2 separate regions of the Homo sapiens genome follow, and region 1 is linked to region 2. Evidence: promoter capture Hi-C in 16 types of primary human blood cells and fetal thymus (Javierre and others, 2016). All regions are on one chromosome and are shown on one strand. The core of a region is centred on a gene start or on the middle of the fragment in contact, and the rest is flanking DNA. Distances in the headings are between cores, read along the strand shown.

Evidence for each region. The method cuts DNA at HindIII sites, captures the fragments that hold promoters and counts their contacts. A CHiCAGO score of 5 or more calls a contact.
Region 1: a fragment that was not itself captured here is called in contact with the fragment with the promoter of UBL5 in region 2 in 1 of 17 cell types (neutrophils); the score reaches 6.9 in neutrophils.

Annotation. Positions count from the first base shown.
Region 1 is chr19:9,335,091-9,339,768 of GRCh38, reverse strand. It overlaps ZNF559 (zinc finger protein 559), which reads right to left. Exons shown (of 7, transcript NM_032497.3): 3 at 1,911-1,973; 4 at 1,187-1,275; 5 at 450-576. The coding sequence starts at 1,219. It overlaps ZNF559-ZNF177 (ZNF559-ZNF177 readthrough), which reads right to left. Exons shown (of 13, transcript NM_001384659.1): 3 at 1,752-1,973; 4 at 1,187-1,275; 5 at 450-576. Among named protein-coding and RNA genes, the nearest start is that of ZNF559-ZNF177, 13 kb to the right of the region's middle. The HindIII fragment of the contact is 9,717 bases long and covers 1-4,678 here.
Region 2 is chr19:9,824,750-9,829,305 of GRCh38, reverse strand. It overlaps UBL5 (ubiquitin like 5), which reads right to left and starts at 1,388. Exons shown (of 5, transcript NM_001048241.3): 1 at 1,322-1,388; 2 at 913-979; 3 at 631-714; 4 at 432-469. The coding sequence starts at 968. RefSeq lists a silencer at 1,272-1,578 and enhancers at 1,622-1,671, 1,082-1,806. The HindIII fragment of the contact is 5,434 bases long and covers 1-1,932 here.

The DNA.
Region 1 (4,678 bases), core at 848-3,347, 490 kb after region 2:
AGTAAAGAATGTGCAAGGGATAACAAATGCTTCCATGTTAAGAGCTAAGATTTTGCTGTCTGGGCATTCTGAACCCTCTCAGATATAACTTAAATTACAACACAATGTTCATGACAAAAACTTTCAAGTGAACCTAAACTTCAAATACTCTTTTCTCATTCACTGTTCACCAAAAGGACTAGCAATCCTTCCCATGAAACCCAGGCTTAAGCTCATACACATATTCAAGAAGCTCTAAGTCTTTTATCCATGGAGAAAATAAAGCTAGAACAATGAACAGATCTTCAATTTCATCAGAAAAATCACAAGGCAGTAAGGTCTATGAGATGGAAACAATGTTTCGCCTGTTTACCAATGCAGCCCATTAACAAGCAGAGTCTAGAACATAGTTACTTAAGACACATTTGTTCCAGAAAAAAACTAAATGAAAAGAATGGTACCAGCCTTACCTACTGCAACTAGATTCTTATAGTTCTCCAGCATCACATCTCTGTATAAGTTTCTCTGAGTTTGATCCAGCAAAGTCCACTCCTCCTGGGTGAAGTCCACAGCCACATCCTCAAAGGTCACTGAGTCCTAAACCATCACACACATGCTGGCGTCAGGCAAGTACGTTCTCCACTATGTTGACTGGAGAATGAGGGACCTTGTCTTGGCATGCCTTGACAAGACTCTTTGGTCTCCTATCACTTGATGGTCCTCACTTTCTTCTCCCCTGTCTGTACATATTCACCGGTGATCTCATCTAGTCATATGGCTTGAAGAGCACCTCTTTCACCTAACTGAATATATCTCAGCACAACTAGATTGTGACTTCTTCTTATTGTTCTCTACTGACAGGTTTTAGCACAACCCTGAATACATTATAGACACTCAAATAAATGCTCCAGTGACAGCACAAATTCCGAGAAGCACATGTGCATTCTCTCCCTATCACAGCAAAATGAAAGCATATCAGCATGGATGACAGTCAGACTGAATTAGTAAACAGTGGGATAGTACAATCATTTCCCTGTGAAACCTGTCAACCATGTGAGAGGCCCTGTGGTCCGAAGAAGTTTGATGAGAGATGTGGTCCCTAAGCAGACCCTCTTTGCTTGCAGGGGCCCTGTTCCACTAGGAGAAAACACATCTACATGGTAGGAAGAAGCATATGCTTCTACAGAAAAAGCAATTTCCTACTTACCTGAGAGTAATTTGTCAACCACCCAGCCACCATCCTTTCCTCTTCAAATTTTGACTCATGAAGACAGAAAACATCTTGAGAAAGATGATCTTAAGAAGAAGAAATAAAATCTGAGAATCCAGGCTGCTGATAGCTTCCATACTCACAAGGCAAGAAGCCACCTCATACTAATGCTAAGTGGACACACACACGTTATAATAAAATGCCTGAGCAGCCTGTCTCACCTGAAGCCAGAAAATATGCTTCAGGCTTTGATGACCAGGAGAGAGAGAGTTTAACAATCCCATTTTATAAGGAATACAAAGTCCAGAGAAGTTAACATTTTCCTTATTTGCCAAAAAAGAAACTGATCATGTGATTAAGCAGAACTTCTTCCACAAAAGCCTGCATACTTACTCCTCCTTCCCAAATCCCAGGATTTAGACCACAGAATATTCGTATCTACTTTAGCCTCTTCTAGGTATCTCAAAAGCAGGGCCACTTAGACCCTAAACCCTAATCACAAGACAAGCTGTTCACAGACTGGTTAAAGCAGCGTCTTGAAGGACCATCAATACGGACTTACCACAAAGGGAAAGACCAATGGCCAGCATCCTGTGAGTCTAACAGTGAAATGTGCCTGAATATCTTGTTCCCAAAGTCTCTTCGAGACACTGTCTGAACTTATGGGTAAGTCAATCTCAATTCCTCTTGATTAAGTAGTAGTGGGAGTCTTGCCTCATACCGTCAATCTTTCAGCAACAGGCATTACTCATCTGTCATCAAGCGCCATTCATTAGCCATCTCTCTGCAGAAGATGAAGTTGTTCATGTGAGTGCCACTAGAGTATTATGCCACGTGGACATAAATAATAACAAATCCCGTTTACCTAGTACCCATGTGCCAGAAACAGTGGTAGGATAAGTTCATATAATTATCAAAGCAGTTTTTGTTACTATCATATTAGTTGAGGAAACCTAAGCTCAGACACTAATTAACCCAACATCACCAATTAGAAAGTGTGAGCCAGGATATGAATACAGGTTACTCTGACTCACAAACCTAAACTCCTGAGGTTCTTCTTATTCTCCAACGTGACCATGAGATCGTCATGAAATGATGTACGGAAAGGTTAACTCAACAGGCCTGGGTTGCCCAAACCCTGCACTCTCTTGAGAAAGATCTGTCTTCAGGACTGACACTTGGCTCAGTTTGTGAGAGATGACCTTTTAGCTTATGGAATATCTTCCCTGGTAAGTGTATATTTTTCTATGGTTGAGCTATTGAGCCAAACTATACTAGTGTGACCAGATTGTGTATGCTAACAATATGATTTATGCTGAAGGCCTGTTTTTGTATGCCTGAGGCTTCTGGCAATAATGCATGAGTTTGAACTGTTGAGGGGCTGGGCATAAGTGTATGAAGTCATTCAGGTGCTGTATGCCTACGGGACTAACCCTCAGTAAAAATCCTGGACACCAAAGCTCAGGTGAGCTTCCCTAGTTGGCAACAGTTTGCAGGAATACTACACACTTTTACTAGGAGAATTAAGCACTGTCCATGTGACTACATGGGAGAGAAGCCTGGTTTCTTCTAGACTTCATTCATCTTTTCCCTTTGCAGATTCTAATCTGTACCCTTTTATTATAATAAACCATAACTGTAGGTTTAATAGCTTCTGAGTCCTGTGAGTGCTTCCATCACTGAGCGTGAGGGTGGTGGTCTTGAGGACCCCCAACACAAATGGCTTATTGAATTTAGACATCTTTAGCTCCTCCAGCTGTAAAAATCATGTAGGCCAGGTGGCTTCCCTTCAAGTCCTCATCTCTGGCTTACGCTTTCATTCACTCTGCAAACATTTATGAAGGACCTTATCTTTGTGAGGTAATGTACTAGACACTTAGGATAGAGCAGTCAACTATACAAAAAATGTCCTAGACCTTAAGTATCTCACATTCTAAAGGGCTAAGCAGATAATAAACACATAAGTTTTTTTTTGTTTTTTTTTTGAGATGGAGTCTCGCTCTGTCGCCCAGGCTGGAGTGCAGTGGCGCGATCTTGGCTCACTGCAAGCAAGGTCTGCCTCCCAGGTTCACTCCATTCTCCTGCCTCAGCCTCCCGAGTAGCTGGGATTACAGGCATGCACCACCAACCCCAGCTAATTTTGTATTTTTGGTAGAGACAGGGTTTCCCTATGTTGGTCAGGCTGGTCTCGAACTCCCAACCTCAGGTGATCCGCCTGCCTCAGCCTCCCAAAGTGCTAGGATTATAAGCATGAGCCACTGTGTCCAGCCATAAATATGTATTATGTCAATTGGTGACAAGTACTATGGAAAAAAATAGATGAATGGATAAGTAATATCATCCTCCACCTCCCCTACCACACACACACATATAAATGTATATTTACAGACTCAGAACTGGTTCTGGCAAGAAAATATAAGAAAATAACCATAAGACACTTGAAAACTGACATCTGGCTTCCCTAAAAAAGTTGACACTCAACTTTTTATCCAAAGCAATAGAGTAATAATAATGGTTCACTAAAGAAACTCAGAATACTGCTAAGGCTAAGCCAATTAAGTAATTTCTTTACTTTGCTTTCACATTCAGTCTACAAAAGCCAACTGTGCATGCTGCTACAGCAGAGCCCCCTGAACCCTTCTGGTTTTGGAGTGCTGCCTGATTCACGAATCCTTTAATGCTTAACTATTACGTTTATCTGAAGTTTTTCTTTTAATATTCATAGGTCCTAGCAGAGGGTAGAAAATATTTGGGGTGTGACTCATGCCTGTAATCCCAGCACTCTGGGAGGCCAAAGCAGGCAGATCACTTGAGCTCACAAGTTTGAGACCAGCCTGGGCAACATGGTAAAACCCCGTCTCTACAAAAACCACAAAAATTAGCCAGGTGTGGTGGTACGTGTCTGTAGTGCCAGCTACGTGGGAAGGTGGCTTGAGCCTGGGAGGCAAAGGTTGCAGTGAGCTGAGATCACGCCACTGCATGCCAGTCTGGGCGATAGAGCCAGACCTTGTCTCAACAAAAAAAGAAGAAAAAAGAAAATGTATGGGGTGGATGAAATGCTGAATCACACATTGTGCAAAAGTTTGTCTATTTTATATTTTTCTGGGGGTATGGGGGAGACAGGGCTGCACTCTTCCCAAGGCTGGAGTGCAATAGTAGGATCAAGCTCACAGCAGCCTTGAACTCCTGGGCTCAAGCAATCTTCCTACCCCAGCTTTCTGAGTAGCTAGGACTTCAGGCAAAAGCCACCACCACACCCGGCCAATTAAAAATTTTTTTGGCAGAGATTGGTGGTGGGGCTGGAATGGAGAAGGGGTTCCTCGCAATGTTGGAAAGGCTGATCTTGAACTCCTGGGCTCAAGCGATCCTCCCGCCTTGACCTCCCAACGTGCTGGATTACCGGTGTGAGCCACCATGACCAGCTAATTTTTTTTTTTTTTTTTTGAGACAGAGTCTCGCTCTGTCACCCAGGCTGGAGTGCAGTGGCAT
Region 2 (4,556 bases), core at 139-2,638:
GGGAAGCTGAGGCAGAATTGCTTGAACCCGGGAGGTGGAGGTTGCAGTGGGTCAAGATCGTGCCACTGCACTCCAGCCTGGGCGACAGAGCCAGACTGTCTCAAAAAAATAAATAAATAAAATAAAAATTGTAAAAAGTTTCTGCTCCTTTTGCACAATAGATATGCCTGAGTCTCACCCCACCCTGACCTACTGTCCAGCACTCAGGTGGAGGTCAGTAATAAATATTTTGAACTTGAAGTCAAACTATTTCACCAACCACTCTCCTCCCCAACCAAATAATTACCTAGCTCCCATTTTCTAAGTGCTCACCATGTGCCACGTATTAAGTTAAACACTTAATATGCATAAGCTCATGCAGACTTTAGTTTTGAACAGATAACCGAGGCTGGGTATGTAGATGCTTCCTCAAAAAGTCACACAAAGGATACAGTCCCCCAGAGACACGTGGTCCTTAAAAATCGTGTACCTAAGAAAAAGAGACATTTCAGAGATAAGGCTAAGGAGGCTCTTCAGTCTGTAGGCCAAATGAGGTAGCCAAGCCTAAGCAAAGGGCTGCCTGCAGCGCTCCCCCAACCAAAACCTTCCGGCCTAGTCCAGTCCACCCAGTGGCTCTACCGCTGCACTCACCACTTCTTCAGGACAATCTTGTTCCAACGGGTACCAGTTTGGGCTGCAATCAGCTTCTTAAGGTCCCCGATGGTATCATCCGTGCTGGGCGCAGAGCAGTTAAGGCAAATGGAAGCGGTAGAACGAGGAAGAGGACATTCTAGGGCAGAATACCATCTGCCAGGACCCCATCCGCCCCCTCTCCCGGGTTTAACTAAAACCATCCGACAACACAGATTGAGTTGCCTGCCTCACGCCAAGCACCCCTGCGGGTACCACTGCCTCTCGGCTGCCAGTGGATACTTGCATTTAACGCGGACCTTCTTCCCCAGACGGTCGTTGCAAACAACCTCGATCATCCTAGCTGGAGCTACACAAAGCGGGGGGTGGGTGGGAGGCAGCAAAGTCAGAGCTTCAGGCGTCTCCCAGGCCCAGAAGCCCCAGCCTACAAGTCTCCCAGTCCCAGGCCCTAAAATTCCAGGTTACTGAGCCTTCCGTTCTGCCCCCAACCCCCCGGACTCGAATACTCCCAGGCCCCAAGTCCCCTGTCCCAGGGCCGCGAACCCCGGGGAGCCGCGCCTCCGCCCCTTCTCGCCGCCTGAAAGCCCTGCCACAAAACTCCCTGGCCTCACCTCCCACCGACCCCAGACCCTGGGTGGCTGGGTCGCGACAGCTTTCTCCGACTCCGAGCCTCTCCGCTTGACCCCCTCACCTCGAATCGCCTCGAACCTGCCGACGCCACCAGCTCCTCACCCGAGCGCTGAACCCCGGTCGCAGTTAACGCTAGGAACCGGAAGCGGAAGTTAAAGTTCGAGGCCGGAAGCCCTGCCCCTAGCCAGGGGGTGTGGTCAACACTGGGACAAGTTCTTCCGGGTCTGCAGTCTGTGGTGTGTTTGCTGTTCCCAGGTACGGTTTCGGTGTCCCAAGGCTTGACAGGTGTCGCGCCTGTGGTAGGCGCGCCGGGTAGAGAGGGGGGCCTCGGCGGGTTTGTGGCCAGGGAAGGGGCGTGGAGCGAGAGTCAGAGGTCAGGCGCCGGCGCCCAGCTCGTTTGAAGTCATTGTTTGTTGCAGGGAGACTCGGTCACATGGTGGGGACGCCAGAGGGTCCCGGGAGTAGGGGTAAGCTCCTGATCCTGAGCCCGAAGCCTCTTGCAGCGGCAACTAGGAGCAAGGGCGGAGGGTGGGGGTGGGGGACGAGTTCTGCAGTCATCCCTTCTGACCCCCTGGGTTCATTCAGGGCTGGGCTTGGTGAGCATTTGGCTCACCTCTTCCCTCTGGCCATCGCGTTCCCCCGGGATACGGACTCCAGTCAGTAGGCGAAGCTTGATCCTAGAGTAGACTCTACGCTGCCCAACAGCTGCTGTTACCGCATGGTGCCGGACAGTTCCAGGCTCTTGGTGTCCTGAAGAAAGATTTGGACCAGACACACAGAGATGGCAAAGCTGCAAGTTTATTAAGCACAGTATTCCACTCTCGGAGTGGGGAGAGCGGACTGACCTCTGCGAGATAAGATCAGCCCCAGCTTGGTATAGTTTGGGTCTTTTTTTTTTTTTTTTTCTGAGACGTAGTCTCGCTCTGTTGCACAGGCTGGAGTGCAATGGCGCGGTGCCGGCTCACCGCAACCTCCGCCTTCCGGGTTCAAGCGATTCTCCTGCCTCAGCCTCCCGAGTAAGTAGCTGGGATTACAGGCGCCCGCCACCACGCCCGGCTAATTTTTGTACTTTTAGTAGAGATGGGGTTTCACCTTATTGGCCAGGCTTTTTTTCTCTTCCCAAGGCTGCCTAATATCTAGCCAGTGTCTACCTTTTTGAATGATAGGTGTGTTGCTTACTTTGGCCCCTGTGTGCTTGAGAGCCGCCTCCATTCATGATATGCCGTCCATATGCATGAGCGCTAATGAGCTGGTTATCCTTATCATGTTAAGGATACTTTTTGTCTTTAATGCGCGTGCTTATGCCTAAAGAGCTGCTCCTTACTGGTTTGGTCCTGATTTCCCCGGCCGTGGGATTTTTACTGTTTTTTTTTTAATTTTATTTATTTATTTATTTATTTATTTATGGAGTCTCGCTCTGTCGCCCAGGCTGGAGTGCAGTGGCGTGATCTGGGCTCACGGCAAGCTCCGCCTCCCGGGTTCACGCCGTTGTCCTGCCTCAGCCGCCTCCCGAGTAACAGGGACTACAGGCGCCCCCCACCACCCTCGGCTAATTTTTTTGTATTTTTAGTAGAGACGGGGTTTCACTGTGTTAGCCAGGATGGTCTCGATCTCCTGACCTCGTGATCCGCCTGCCTCAGCCTCCCAAAGTGTTGGGTGTGAGCCACTGTGCCCGGCCTTTACTCAGTTTTTAATCTTCCTTTTGTTTTGTCTCCTCAGCTTCTGCCATTTATCTTGCTTCTTGCTGGGTGAGCAAGAAGGGGCGGGTGCCCTTTCACCTTGCTTCTGCTCTCTGCTTTTACGTATTTTACCCTTTATCCAACTTTTAATTCCCTTTGCTATTCTTCTGCCTCATTTTCCCTATTCTCCTTTCTCACTGCCAGTCACCAACCTTAAATGCCTGCGAGGTAACTGGAAACATTGCACATTTGCACAATCTCCTGCAGCTGTATCTTTGGGGAGCACTTTGTACCAGATTCCAGGTTTGTGAGGGCTGGTGGGACAAGGACCGTCCTTCCTCAATTCAGTCAAACAATTTGTAAACCAAAAAGTATCTGAGACAGGTCTCAATAAATTGACAGGTTTATGTAGACAAGGTTAAGGACAAGCCTGGGAGAAAAGGAACACAAAACCCCAGGAACAATCTGTGATCCGTGCTTTTTTCCAAATATGATTTTGAGGGCTTCATTATTTAAAGGGAAAAGTGGGCTGGAGGGGAAAGAGGGAGAGTATGGTCACATTATTTAATCTACATGAAGAATACTCCATTATGTATTCATTTGGTGCTCAGTAAATTGGCACTTTCCATAACATAAAGTAAGCTACCTGTGGAGATATCTGGCCTTTAAAAAAAAATTTTTTTTGAGGCTAGGCACAGTGGCTCACACCTGTAATCCCAGCGCTTTGGGAGGCTGAGGTGGGCAGATCACAAGGTCAGGAGTTCGAGACCAGCCTGGCCAACATGGTGAAACCCCGTCTCTATTAAAAAAAAAAAAAAAAAATTAGCCAGGTGTGGTGGCAGGCACCTGTAATCCCAGCTACCTGGAGGCTGAGGCAGGAGAATCGCTTGAACACGGGAGGCGGAGGTTGCAGTGAGCTGAGATCGCGCCACTGCACTCCATCCCTCCATCCTGGGCAACACAGAGTGAGGCTATCTCAATTTTTTTTTTTTTTTTTTTTGAGGCAGAGTCTCGCTCTGTTGCCCAGGCTGGAGTGCAGTGGAACAAACTCAGCTCACCACAACCTCCCGTGTTCAAGCGATTCTCCTGCCTCAGCCTCCTTAGTAGCTGGGATTACAGGCACATGCCATCACGCCCAGCTAATTTTTGTATTTTTAGTAGAGACAGGATTTCACCATGTTGTCCAGGCTGGTCTCGAACTGCTGACCTCAAGTGATCTGCCCACCTCGACCTCCCAAAGTGCTGGGATTACAGGCGTGAGGCACCGCAACCGGCCTATTTGCTTTTGAATGGCAGGATCCAGAGACTAAAACCCCCTTTTACTATCGTTGAACTATACTGCTACAGTGGTTTAAGAATTCTCCAAGGCCAGGTGCAGTGGCTCAAACCTGTAATCCCAGCAGTTTGGGAGGCCAAAGTGGGCAGATCACCTAAGGCCAGGAGTTCAAGACCTGCCTGACCAACATGGAGAAACCCCATCTCTTTAATTTTGTAAAAATACAAAATTAGCCTGGCATGGTGGCGCATGCCTGTAATCCCAGCCACTTGGGAGGCTGAGGCAGGAGAATCGCATGAACCAGGGAGGCGGAGGTTGCGGTGAGTCGAGATGGTGCCATT